Linked DNA regions of Homo sapiens: region 1 is linked to region 2. Evidence: promoter capture Hi-C in human tissues and cell types (Jung and others, 2019). All regions are on one chromosome and are shown on one strand. Each heading gives the region's core, a stretch centred on a gene start or on the middle of the fragment in contact. The rest is flanking DNA. Distances are from core to core; before and after follow the strand shown.

What was found. Contacts are between HindIII fragments. The study calls those that stand out against the background at their distance.
Region 1: the fragment with the promoter of CTSC here is called in contact with the fragment with the promoter of FZD4 in region 2 in 1 of the 25 tissues and cell types used here (IMR-90 fibroblasts).

Annotation. Positions count from the first base shown.
Region 1 is chr11:88,335,621-88,342,497 of GRCh38, reverse strand. CTSC (cathepsin C) reads left to right here and starts at 4,762. Exons shown (of 7, transcript NM_001814.6): 1 at 4,762-4,997. The coding sequence starts at 4,826. It overlaps LOC101929174 (a long non-coding RNA gene), which reads right to left and starts at 4,614. Exons shown (of 5, transcript NR_188511.1): 1 at 4,442-4,614. RefSeq lists an enhancer at 4,767-5,046. The HindIII fragment of the contact is 12,694 bases long and covers 1,497-6,877 here.
Region 2 is chr11:86,951,162-86,957,568 of GRCh38, reverse strand. FZD4 (frizzled class receptor 4) reads left to right here and starts at 2,174. Exons shown (of 2, transcript NM_012193.4): 1 at 2,174-2,768; 2 at 5,099-6,407. The coding sequence starts at 2,484. FZD4-DT (FZD4 divergent transcript) reads right to left here and starts at 1,948. Exons shown (of 3, transcript NR_038905.1): 1 at 1,857-1,948. It also overlaps a transcript of PRSS23 not described here. RefSeq lists silencers at 1,447-1,596, 1,947-2,316, 2,447-2,496. The HindIII fragment of the contact is 8,131 bases long and covers 1-6,018 here.

The sequences.
Region 1 (6,877 bases), core at 3,513-6,012, 1.4 Mb before region 2:
AACTTAACAGTGATAAACTAGGATATCTGGTGGAAGGAATATCTAAGCAGCAAAGTATTTAGGCTACTAAATGGCTTCTTTTAACTACTTATAGTAAGATATAAGAAAAAACAGAATAGAAAAACATTAGAAAATTTGAAGCCTGGCCACCTTAACAGTGAAAGGGGTGTTTGGGTATGGTCAAGAGATTGCTAAAGAGGTCACCATGGATAGAATGAAGCCAAAGGCTATCCATGACAATGAAATTAAAAACCCCAGAGGCATTTCTGGGATCTTTGAGGCTGCCCCTTCCTCATAGGCCCTGAGCTCTAAGAGGGCAGAATAATTCCGGGGATGGACTGCTGCCCAGGGCTGCTTTGGGTCTCTACTCCCTGCGTTCCAGCACACTGCTCCTCAGCGCCCCCAGCTGTGGTTCAAGCAGCCACAGGTGCAGATTAACCTGCAGCTCTAGGATGTACAAGTGGTAAACCATGGCAGTATCCATGTGGTACTAATTCTGCAGGTGCATAGAATGCAAGAGCTGTGGAGGCCTGGCAGCCTCCACCTAGATTTTGAAGAATGTGTTGGACTGTCTGAGGGTAGAGCTACTGCAGAGAGCTTCCACTAGGGCAATACGAAGTGGAACAGTGGAACTGGGGTTGTTGCATAGAGCCCCCCTAAGGGCAATGCCTAATGCAGCTGTAAGAGCCAGACTGCCACCAGGACCCCAGAACAGTAGAGCCACCAGCAGCATGCAATACCTGCCTGGGAAAGCTGAGGGCACCAGGGTGCCTTGAGGCCTCCTGAAATACCCCATCCCCCAATGTGCACAAGATGCTGTACATGGAATCAAGAAAGATTATTCTCCAGCCTTAAAATTTAAGTCTTCTCTGCTGAGTTTTTGACTTGCTTGGGCCTGTTACTTCTTTCTTCTGGCCTGTTTGTCTCTTTTGGAAAGGGAGTGTATACCTTATACCTGTCCCACCATTGTATCTAGGAAGTAGATAACTTGTTTTGATTTCACAAACTCCCAGATGACACTTTAGACTTTTGAGTTGGTGCTGGAACAAATTCAGTCTTTTGGGACTACTAGGATGGAATGACTGTATTTTGAATTGTGAGAAGGCCATGAATTCTGGGGGTCAGGGACAGAATGCTGTGGTTTGAACATAGGTTGTCCCCCAAAAGTCATGTGTCGAGAGGTGGGACCTTTGAGAAGTGATTGGCAGTGCCCTCATGAATGGATGAATCTATCATGGGTTAATAGATTAATGGATTATGGAATTATCAAGGATTAGTTATCATGAGGGTGGGTCTGTAATAAGCACTAGTTTGGCCATCTCTCATGACCCCCTTTGCCACGTGATACCCTGTACTACCTTGGGATTCTGCAAAGAGTCTCAACCAGCAAGAAGGGCCCCCTTCGATGGGGCCTCTTGACCTTGGACTTACCTGTCTCTAGAACTATAAAAAATAATTTTCTTTGTTTTAAATTACCGAGTCTCAGGTACAGTTCTAGCAACAGAAAACAGACTAAGACAGATGCTGATGTCCCTGGTCCTAGGCTACACTTTGAGAACCACTGCCAAGTAATGCTGCCTCTCTGTAAACCTGCTTTTAATGATGGGAGCCTACTGACAGACCATGTTTTGCACATAAGCTCACTTTTGTTTTATATAATTTTAACATATACTGAATTTTTGGGAATGCAACCTCTTGATAAACCTTCAACAGAAAATTCTACTTTGTTCTCCTGGGAATTTGACCAAGAATTGTCCAACATCAACAACTTTGGTATGGTGTTTGAGTGATTAATTGATAAGGTATTTGAGTTATAACTCATCAGAAATCATTTGTGCTCTCAGAAAAAAGTTCCTATCACATTTACCACGATTCTACAATTTTACATAGAAGTGAAACCACCTTTGCAAAAATTACAACTGTGAAAGAAATCAGACCTAATCGACTCCATCTTGCTTCTAATCTTTAAGCTGTCCTTTTTCATTCCTGGGCATAGGTGGAACAAACTTTGGGAAGTAATTCAGTTCATGGTTTGACTCTGAAACAAAATTGATAATAGCCCTTTCCCAAAAAGACTCCCTTCTTGCCTGGGGACCAGTCTGCCTTCGCAGGACTAACAAATTAGCTACAAGATTAGAAATTACAGTTTAGGGGTCATGTGGCCTCTGGCTCCAAGAGTCTGCACCCTCCCACCCTCCAAGTTGCTTCTGGGGATAACATCTCTATTGTAAAATCTAAGATCAGTGCTTGAGATATTTTACAGACCCTGCACTCCATAGATCAGCTGACACCACTGAGACCAGCAATCTGGCTCAACCATATCTGCCATCCCACCCAGGAACAGAAGATAGCAAGAAAAACTCACTTAGACCCCCTATGATTCCATCTCCAACCTAACCAATCAGCACTCCCCACTTCCCAAGCCCCTACCCACCAAATTATCTTTGAAAACTCTGATCCCTGAATGCTCGGGGAGACTGATTTGAGTGATAATAAAACTCCCGTCTCCCCCACAGCCGGCTCTGTATGAATTACTCTTCCTCCATTGCAATTCCCCTGTCTTGATAAATTGGCTCTGTCTAGGCAGCAGGCCAGGTGAATCCATTGGGTGGTTACAGAAGTGTGAAGAGCAAGTATCTGAGTGCCTCATTATGTTTTCCAACACAGTCATACTTGAACATTTTACATGATGGGATATAACTTATTATACTAGAAATATATTTAAAATATCTGATTTCTTCTTTATATTACATTTGGCATTACATTTCTTTTTATTAAGTGTGTAAGCAGTTTATATATTAATTTCATTTCAGAAAGTAAAGGATTTGGGGTCTGATCAGTTTGAGAATCAATTTTTTGTGTGTGCGTGGAATGGAGAGTTAGTAGTTATTTTTGAGAGAGAACAGTATGGGAATTATTAGATTAGTAGAAATAAACTAAACTGAAAATCAATGTGCCTGAGGTTCATTCTTAAATCTTACTAAGTGGCAATATGACATTCAGCAAGTGATTTAACTCTCTGAATCTCCATTTCCCAATTTTAAAATGAATCCATTAGACTAAGAGGTCCACAAGATCTTTTTCTATTATTCAATCATTGAATAAAGACTGTTTTAAACTTTCTTTACAATTAAGTGTGTTGCTTTGATTACATTCATCAAAGAAATTTCCACCTAAACTGGCTCTTCAATATTGATGACCTAATACAAATTTAATGTTTTAACAATCAGTAACACACCTTCCTAGAGATTCAGGAAGGGAAGCTTAATCTGTCAGGGTATCTTTAAATAAATAGTGTGTTAGCTTAATTATACAATGTCAGCTTTCAATTCTAAGAAGGTATATAAAACCTAAAAGCAAGGTGTTCCCCAACCCCCCGCCACCAACCCCGCCCCAGGCTTTGGAAATTTGTGCCCCCATTGAAGAGTATTTTCACCTCTGAACTTTCAAGGACAACTCCTTTTGCCTCATTGAAACTGGCTTTCAAGCTTGGCAACCAAGATAAGAATATTAAGTACACTTATTTTAACACTCAAGGACACTTTCTGAATAAACCAGAATCTAGGGAGATATAAGTGAATAATTTGGACCTGCTCTCTTTGAATGTTTATAATCTGGTGGAAAAAAAATGGACATATGAATATTGATTTGTGACCAGTGCAAAGGGGGCAAAAATTCATATCCCAAAGAAAACGGGGACACATCAGGTCTGTCTTGTTCATCACTGTGTCCACAGGGCCTGACACCTAGTAGGCTCAGTGGGAGAAAGGAGCCCCAATTACCAACAAAAGCCAGGAAAGAACGGGAGGCTCTTACGGAAAAGGGTGATACTTAAACTGAGCAAGGAGGCACCTGGAAATAGTGCCACCTAATAATTTTTGGCGATCAGACTGACACACTAGAACGGTTCATAAGACCAGCCTTCTCCCATTGGCTAGCTTCCTTCCTCACCCTTCTCACCCTGGGCAAGCCGCTTCCTCTCTCTGGGCCTCTTGCTTTTCCTCTGTAACATAAAAGGGGTTGAGCAATATCATCTCTGAGAGCGCCATGTGTGTGCGTGCCAGAGGGAAAACCCCCACAACGCTAATACATCAAAACTGCAGGTTTGCACAAAAACTGAATTCTGCTGAATGCAAACAGGCAAACAGCATTTACCAGGAAACAAAACAAAATCAAGCACATAAAAAAGTAGGAAGAGTTGGAAAACGGAAGGAAGATAAGTTCTCAAACAGCTGGAATAGTTGATGTTAGCTAGCGAAGTTTTTCAGAGGAAAAAACAAGAAGTTGGTTATGAGGCAAGTGGACCTGAGAAAAAAGACTAAAGGGGAAGAATAGCAAGTAAAACAGAACTCCACTTGCTAGATCTCTCCCTCTGTCGCGCTCTTTCACCTGACCCACTCCCTTATTCCCCCCACACCCTTTCCTTCTCTCCCTACGTTACCGCACAGGAACGAAGTCTGGGTCATGTGCGGACCGCTTGTGGCTCTTAAATCCTCTTTTTGTCACCCTGGCCGTGCAAAATTTTGAAACGTCCCTCGGCAAAAAAAATAAAAATAAAAAAAAAAAATCTGTCCCTGGCCTCTTCCCTAGTTCTGGGTCCAGTTGCAGCCAAGTGAGGGGCAGCGCGCGCTCCCAAGTCCCCGTTTCAGAGACGCGCACGCGCCTGGCGCCCAACCCCCAATCCCCTGCTGCTCAGTGACCCCGCCCACGGGTTTCCGGGCCGGCGTAGCTATTTCAAGGCGCGCGCCTCGTGGTGGACTCACCGCTAGCCCGCAGCGCTCGGCTTCCTGGTAATTCTTCACCTCTTTTCTCAGCTCCCTGCAGCATGGGTGCTGGGCCCTCCTTGCTGCTCGCCGCCCTCCTGCTGCTTCTCTCCGGCGACGGCGCCGTGCGCTGCGACACACCTGCCAACTGCACCTATCTTGACCTGCTGGGCACCTGGGTCTTCCAGGTGGGCTCCAGCGGTTCCCAGCGCGATGTCAACTGCTCGGTTATGGGTAAGCCGCCGGCTCGGCAGTCCTCCGGGTCGTCCTTTCTGCCCTTGAGCCCCTAACGCAGCGCCACGCCAACTACCGCTTCCCCCCAGGCAGACGCTTGTGGGTGGCCAGAGCATCTTGACTGGATTCGGGGACCCTTGGGGACCTTCTTCCCCGCCAGGCTCGCGAAGTTAAAGTTCATCTGCTGAGAACTTCTAACTCCACACTTTCTTGGTTATCTTGGGGACTCAACACTTTGATCAAGAACTTTTTTATTCCTCCCGCTTAATTTTGTTTGCTTTGAGAGAGACTTGGGAACTGCAATCGTTTGGTTCTCCAGTCCGATCTGGTAGCGTTATTTTTAAAATTTATTTTTATTTTTTATTACTATTTTACTAGTGAAGATAGATGAGCTCAGAGACTCTCGAGGATATAGCATGAAGTTTTCTCTTTTTGTTAGATGGTGGGAAAGGGACTTTCTGCCCAGCGATTTTGGTTTGAGCGGGTGTTGATGAGTACTAGAAAACGGCTAGTACCACTCTGCATTGTTTCATGCATTGCAAGGAGGTAAAAATTTTTTAAAAAATTAATAACAAAGAAAACTTAACTCTGAACCTAGTAATTAGAAATGCCCAGAGTCTGCACAATGTTTGGCTCATGGAAGGCTCTCAATAAATACCTAGTGTTTGAACATACTGGAGATATTCCATATGCCTTCAGATAACATGGTTACCCCTAGAACAAAGAACCTAGTGAAGGGGGTGGGGTGGAAAAAAGACAATCACTAGTTAGAAGAGTCACACTGTGGTCTACCCAAACCCTCTTACAGCCTGTGACTTCTGCAGAGTCAGTAAAAAATCAGCTATAATTTTCTTGTCAACAGAACAAAGATTAAGTCATTTGTTACTAAAGAAATACCTTTTTAACTGACTGTATAGCATTTCATAATCCTGAACATTGTAACTTTTTTTTTTTTTTTTTTGAGAATGGAGTCTTGCTCTGTCACCCAGGCTGTAGTTCAGTGGCGGGATCTCGGCTCACTGCAACCTCCGCCTCCCGGGTTTAAGCGATTCTCCTGCCTCAGTCTCCCGAGTAGCTAGGATTACGGGCACATGCCACCACGCCCGGCTAATATTTTGTATTTTTAGTAGAGACGGGTTTCACTGTGTTAGCCAGGATGGTCTCCATCTCCTGACCTCGTGATCCGCCCGCCTCGGCCTCCCAAAGTACTGGGATTACAGGCGGGAGTCACCACGCCTGGCCTTTTTTTTTTTTTTTTTTTTAAATTTGAGTTTGAAGGTTGGGGCAGAAAGAGATCAGGATTTGCACTGCCCTGTCACATGCAATCTCCCATGTCAGAGCATTACTCTCAAACATGGAAAAACTTTAAAATACACAACTCTCCAGATGGACACAGCTGAATCATTTTCAGGAAGGCTCTGCCTATAAAATTACCTTTGGCCTTAATTCAGTAATTAAAGGCACCCACAGGTCTGAGCCCTCATCTATGAAGGTTAAACGTATCATTCCTATCAGCACTAATTGGTTTTATAGGATACAGACCTCTAGTTTGCTGAATAAACTTTGGAAGGATTCAGATTATGAGGTTCTAAACTGTAGAGCCTTTGAGGAGAAAGGTACCCCATTTCTTCTCCGAATAGATCATTTTGTGTCTTCTCCTGGGCTTAGCACATTGTCTTCCTTAGGATCTGATAGTCTGTTTATTTATCTTTTTGTTGTCATACCTTTTATTCTTGCATTTCCCACTTTTGACTAGCATTTTGCCTTTTCTCCGTTTCTGGAAGCCTGTAATTTTCAACATTCCCCATTTCTCCTTTTGTTCAGTGGAAAAATTTCTTCAGTGTTGGGATGCTCTGGAAAGGTACTGTAGTTTTGGGGGT
Region 2 (6,407 bases), core at 925-3,424:
TTTGTTAATCCTTTGTCTCCTCCTGTGAGATCCTAAAGGATGAGGATTATCTATTCATTTGATCTGTTCATCTGATTATATATTCATCTCTGTAACCCAAATGATTAATAGATCATTTGATCTCTACATCTGATCGTTTATTCATCTCTGTAGGCCAAGGGTTTTATGCATTACTCAGCACAGGCACACAGAGATTCAATCCTATTGCTGAGTACATTGATTTCCAGCTGGGAATTTTTTCTGGGAAAATAGCCCTGCCTTCCATCTTTGAAGAGCCTCTTCTGGGCCCTGGTTTGGTTGGTCTTGTCATTTTCTATTACTGTGGTTCTAGCCTCAGTTTCCTAATCTCTATAAGGAGCTAACGGAACCTCCTTCACTGGGAGTTTATGATGATGACTGGAGACAATGCAGCTTCTCCGTGTCCAACACAGTTCTAGGCACAGAGCCAAATACCAAAAAAAAGTTGATTCCATTTTTGCCCTCAGTCAAGTCTCGTTGCCAATATAAGAAGACTAAAAATACAAGACAGAATATGAGTGTCACATGAGTGGCACAGACATTCTTCCAACTTGCATCTAGCCTCTGCCATATGCCACAGAATTGGCTGAAATGGGAGGATAAAAACATGCATAAAACAGTGGCAAGTGTTGGACAAAAAGATCTCAGGAAGAGGGTGAAAAGCCTTTTACCCAGATCCTCATTCCGGGGCTGCTGGAGCTGTCTTTAGCACCAGGCTGGAAAGCAGGAGGCTGTCCCATAATTGATCTCCCCTAGCTGTTTTGGAAACACATACACACACACACACACACACACACACACACACACACACCCCAATCACCAAGTTCTTCAGCATTTATTATGTGTCAGACACTGCTAAATGATTTACAGGTATTATCTCACTGAACTCTTAGAACAACTGTGTGAGGTGGATATGAACTTCCCCACTTTACAGCCGGCCACTTTGAGGCTCAGAGAGGCACCATAGCTTCAACACAGTCAAGCAACAAGTAAACGGTGGAGGAATCCACCTGCTGGGAGTTTACTGGCCGACTGGAAAGCAGAGAGAGGGTGGACCAGCACAAAGCCGCGGGGGGCTGGTAATGAGACAGGAAAGTTGGGTTCAAACCTGGGTCACATGATCCCCAGATCCCTAGGAGCCGAAGCAGAAGCAAAGAAAAAAAGGGGTGCAGCCTGGTGGGGAGGGGGTGCCCGGGAGGCCGGGAGAGAGGAGTCACGGTGGTTGTGCGCCTTCCTCGTCCCCAGTGCACAGGTCAAGCCTCTCCCCTCCCGCCCTCTCACCCTCCCAACCTTATTTAGAAACCGTGTCCCCGAGACAGGAAGGGCGGCGGGCCGAGAAGCACGGAGAGTCCCGGTCTCATTTCCTTTCGAATCCCCCTGTGGAATTTCATTTCATACGGTGAGGAAATCAGAGCGCGAGACCGTCGGCGGGTCTGCAGCTCCGCAGCTCTGGGGCGCCTCCCCGCTGGCGGCTGGAGGTGGGCGGCTCCCTGCGCAGGTCGGGCGAGTCTGGGGGCGGGGAGAGGCCGGGCCCCGATCGCCGCTGGTCCGGAGTGAAAATAGCTGTGGACTCACGCAGTACCAGGCACCATGCTAAGCCTTCTACACTTTATCTCTAATCCTCCCAAGTGACTTTACAGAGGAGACTGACGCCGAGGGGTTGAGCAATTTGCTCAAGGTCACACAACCGGGACTGAAAGCCACAATCGGTGTAAATCCAAATCCCCAATTCTTTGTGTACGTTTCTCTGCCTGACGGGGAGGTGGCCACCGGCCTAGGTTACAGCTGAAAGGAGACAGGAAGGAAAGGGGGCAGATGGAACAGGGCGCACTTCTCACCTGCAGAAGGGGGCAGGACGGCGTGGCTGGAGCCACTGGGCTGCGTCCCTGCTTGGCCCCTGCGCGCCTAGATCCGGGTGGGAGGAAAGCAAGAGCCGGGAGGCGGGCGGGGCGGGGCGCTAGGGGAGGGAGGGAGGGAGGGGCGGCCGGAGGAGGGGGCCGGAGGGCGGGGGCCTGACTCCTCCTGCGGGAGAGCGGCCCCGCCCCGCCGCCTCGCCCCTAGCTGCCCACCGCGCCCGGCCATTGGAGAGGCCCGCTGTCCGTCCCGCCCCGCCGCCGCGCCGCGAGCCTCCAGCGCCGCGCAGGGCTCCGGCGGTGAGAGCTGCGCAGCGCTGGCTGCTGGCTGGCCTCGCGGAGACGCCGAACGGACGCGGCCGGCGCCGGCTTGTGGGCTCGCCGCCTGCAGCCATGACCCTCGCAGCCTGTCCCTCGGCCTCGGCCCGGGACGTCTAAAATCCCACACAGTCGCGCGCAGCTGCTGGAGAGCCGGCCGCTGCCCCCTCGTCGCCGCATCACACTCCCGTCCCGGGAGCTGGGAGCAGCGCGGGCAGCCGGCGCCCCCGTGCAAACTGGGGGTGTCTGCCAGAGCAGCCCCAGCCGCTGCCGCTGCTACCCCCGATGCTGGCCATGGCCTGGCGGGGCGCAGGGCCGAGCGTCCCGGGGGCGCCCGGGGGCGTCGGTCTCAGTCTGGGGTTGCTCCTGCAGTTGCTGCTGCTCCTGGGGCCGGCGCGGGGCTTCGGGGACGAGGAAGAGCGGCGCTGCGACCCCATCCGCATCTCCATGTGCCAGAACCTCGGCTACAACGTGACCAAGATGCCCAACCTGGTTGGGCACGAGCTGCAGACGGACGCCGAGCTGCAGCTGACAACTTTCACACCGCTCATCCAGTACGGCTGCTCCAGCCAGCTGCAGGTGGGCGCCCCCACCCCCACCCCTGGCGGGACCCCTTGGGGAGGGACGCTCCAAACTAACTTTGCAGAGCCCATGCCAAGTTGATCATCCTAGCCCGAAGGAGACAGCTCTCCTGGAAAAGTGATTTCCATCCCCACCCCCACTTTCTCAGGGACTGGAAGCCAAAACGTTGTGTAAGTCATCTGGCCTGGGAAAGAACCCACTCTTACACCCCGCCCTTCCGTTTTTCTCTCTTGCCCACCCATGTCTGGCCCAGACCCCTAACCCCAGTGGAGCTGAGGGTTATCTCTGCCAAGGATTCTGGCCGCCACTGCTCGGTGGGCGAGTGGGAGGGAGCCAGCTGCAGCTAAGACTTGGAGGGAGTGATAAGGAGACCATCCTTCACCGAACTTCCTTCTCCCCACTATTTTTGGGGTGTTATTAAATGAAACACTACTGCACCTTTTTCTGCTGAATAGCCCCTTCTCACGACGTCCCGCAGCGTTTTAGAGGTCATGCATGAAGGAGTGGTTGGGTTGGCTTGAGTTCTTTCTTATCCTCACAGTTGAAGGCACGTTTAATGCTTGGAGGGTGAGAAGAAGCTGCAGGAAGGTGGTTGGTATATTGGAAGAAATTTTTTTGCAGTCATTAAAAAATGTAAAGCATATCTAATGATAGAGAAAATGTTTATTCCACAGTAATAAGAATTTGCATATACAGGGTGATTATAATCCTGCAAAATAAAAAATTTATTGGGATAATAAAAGACTGACAGGAAAATTTTTAAAGTGTTAACATTGGTTATGTTTGGGTTGGTGAGGCTGGGTGATTTTTAGAAATTTAGAAAAGAGAGAAGTTGTGGGAAAAAGTAGACGTTAGTTGTCCAGGCTTCAGAAATCTGGTTTCTGGCCGGGCGCAGTGGCTCACGCCTGTAATCCCAGCACTTTGGGAGGCCGAGGCAGGTGGCTCACGAGGTTAGGAGTTCGAGACCAGCCTGACCAACATGGCGAAATCCTGTCTCTACTAAAAGTACAAAAATTAGCCGGGCGTGGTGGCGTGCGCCTGTAATCCCAGCTACTCAGGAGGCTGAGGCAGGAGAATCGCTTGAACCCAGGAGGCAGAGGTTGCAGTGAGCGGGGATTGCACCATTGCACTCTAGCCTGGGCCACAGGAGCGAAACTCCGTATCAAAAAAAAAAAGAAAAGAAAAGAAATCTGTGGTTCTGGCTGTAACTTCTGAGAGATAATAAACAGACATACAGCTTACTTACTAGGTGCATGTTTTTACATAGGTCATTTTAAAACTTGGTTTGTGGTTTTGGAAAGATGGTGGGGATTAGACCTGTTGCTGCTAAAATATCCCTTTGGAAGTTTCAGAACTTTAGAACTAGGTTATAAAAGCTTAAGAAATGATCCTCCAGCTCTCAGTTTGGAAACAGCACATATCCTGACATCAGTGGCAATTTGTTGGAGAAACAGCTTTTGCAGGGATATATATTTTTAATTACATGTATCCTGGGGAAAGCGGCCAAGCTGTTTTGAAGGACAAGACTGGATCCCTTTACATGCTGGAAAATAGTTACTTGTAACTCTAGACTTCATAGACAACATCTGTAAGGAGCCAAGCAGACTGTTTATCAATGCTGGAGGAATTGAGGACAGCAACTGGACTCTCCCCTGCTGGTACTGCAGTTTCAGCGACTTAACATTTACATTTTCCTATTGTGCTTCATTATTATTCATTGAGGAAACCTGGCCAAACAAATCCCTAGTGACCAGAGACCTCAATCTGCATCCCATCCTTGAGTCTAACAGTGTCTCATTTGGGCCATTTTTTGTTTCAGTATGGGACTAGTTTAAACAAATTTTTAAGGGATAAATTAGGGAGAAGAGAATACTAACAGGATCTACATTTTTTTTTAACTTTTATTTTTAAAATGATAAAGAAACGGGGATAAAAATAAACCACCTAAATGAGTCATATTAGTTTCTTTAGCTTTTTCAAATAGTTTCTAAAATGGAAGGAGATTGAAAGCCAGTTTTTTAAGATTTATTTCAAGTGTTGTGCAAAGAGGGCTTATGCAATTCTTCAGACCCTATTTATTTTATTTATTTATTTATGTACATTCTTCTGGAAAGGATTACTAAAGCCAAACTAAGAAAAGTATGTAAGTGATGGATTATCAGGCGCCCTTGTTTGAGGTCAGAGTAAACAGACAGACTCCCGATAGGTTGGTTTAAAAGTAGATACCTAGATTGCCTGGAAGCATTCAACTCAGCTTTGTGGGAGCATTTGGTCAAACTTCCAAGTCATTGTTTTTTTTGTGTGTGTTCATTTTGTTACTTTTCCAGTTCTTCCTTTGTTCTGTTTATGTGCCAATGTGCACAGAGAAGATCAACATCCCCATTGGCCCATGCGGCGGCATGTGTCTTTCAGTCAAGAGACGCTGTGAACCCGTCCTGAAGGAATTTGGATTTGCCTGGCCAGAGAGTCTGAACTGCAGCAAATTCCCACCACAGAACGACCACAACCACATGTGCATGGAAGGGCCAGGTGATGAAGAGGTGCCCTTACCTCACAAAACCCCCATCCAGCCTGGGGAAGAGTGTCACTCTGTGGGAACCAATTCTGATCAGTACATCTGGGTGAAAAGGAGCCTGAACTGTGTGCTCAAGTGTGGCTATGATGCTGGCTTATACAGCCGCTCAGCCAAGGAGTTCACTGATATCTGGATGGCTGTGTGGGCCAGCCTGTGTTTCATCTCCACTGCCTTCACAGTACTGACCTTCCTGATCGATTCTTCTAGGTTTTCCTACCCTGAGCGCCCCATCATATTTCTCAGTATGTGCTATAATATTTATAGCATTGCTTATATTGTCAGGCTGACTGTAGGCCGGGAAAGGATATCCTGTGATTTTGAAGAGGCAGCAGAACCTGTTCTCATCCAAGAAGGACTTAAGAACACAGGATGTGCAATAATTTTCTTGCTGATGTACTTTTTTGGAATGGCCAGCTCCATTTGGTGGGTTATTCTGACACTCACTTGGTTTTTGGCAGCAGGACTCAAATGGGGTCATGAAGCCATTGAAATGCACAGCTCTTATTTCCACATTGCAGCCTGGGCCATCCCCGCAGTGAAAACCATTGTCATCTTGATTATGAGACTGGTGGATGCAGATGAACTGACTGGCTTGTGCTATGTTGGAAACCAAAATCTCGATGCCCTCACCGGGTTCGTGGTGGCTCCCCTCTTTACTTATTTGGTCATTGGAACTTTGTTCATTGCTGCAGGTTTGGTGGCCTTGTTCAAAATTCGGTCAAATCTTCAAAAGGATGGGACAAAGACAGACAAGTTAGAAAGACTGATGGTCAAGATTGGGGTGTTCTCAGTACTGTACACAGTTCCTGCAACGTGTGTGATTGCCTGTTATTTTTATGAAATCTCCAACTGGGCACTTTTTCGGTATTCTGCAGATGATTCCAACATGGCTGTTGAAATGTTGAAAATTTTTATGTCTTTGTTGGTGGGCATCACTTCAGGCATGTGGATTTGGTCTGCCAAAACTCTTCACACGTGGCAGAAGTGTTCCAACAGATTGGTGAATTCTGGAAAGGTAAAGAGAGAGAAGAGAGGAAATGGTTGGGTGAAGCCTGGAAAAG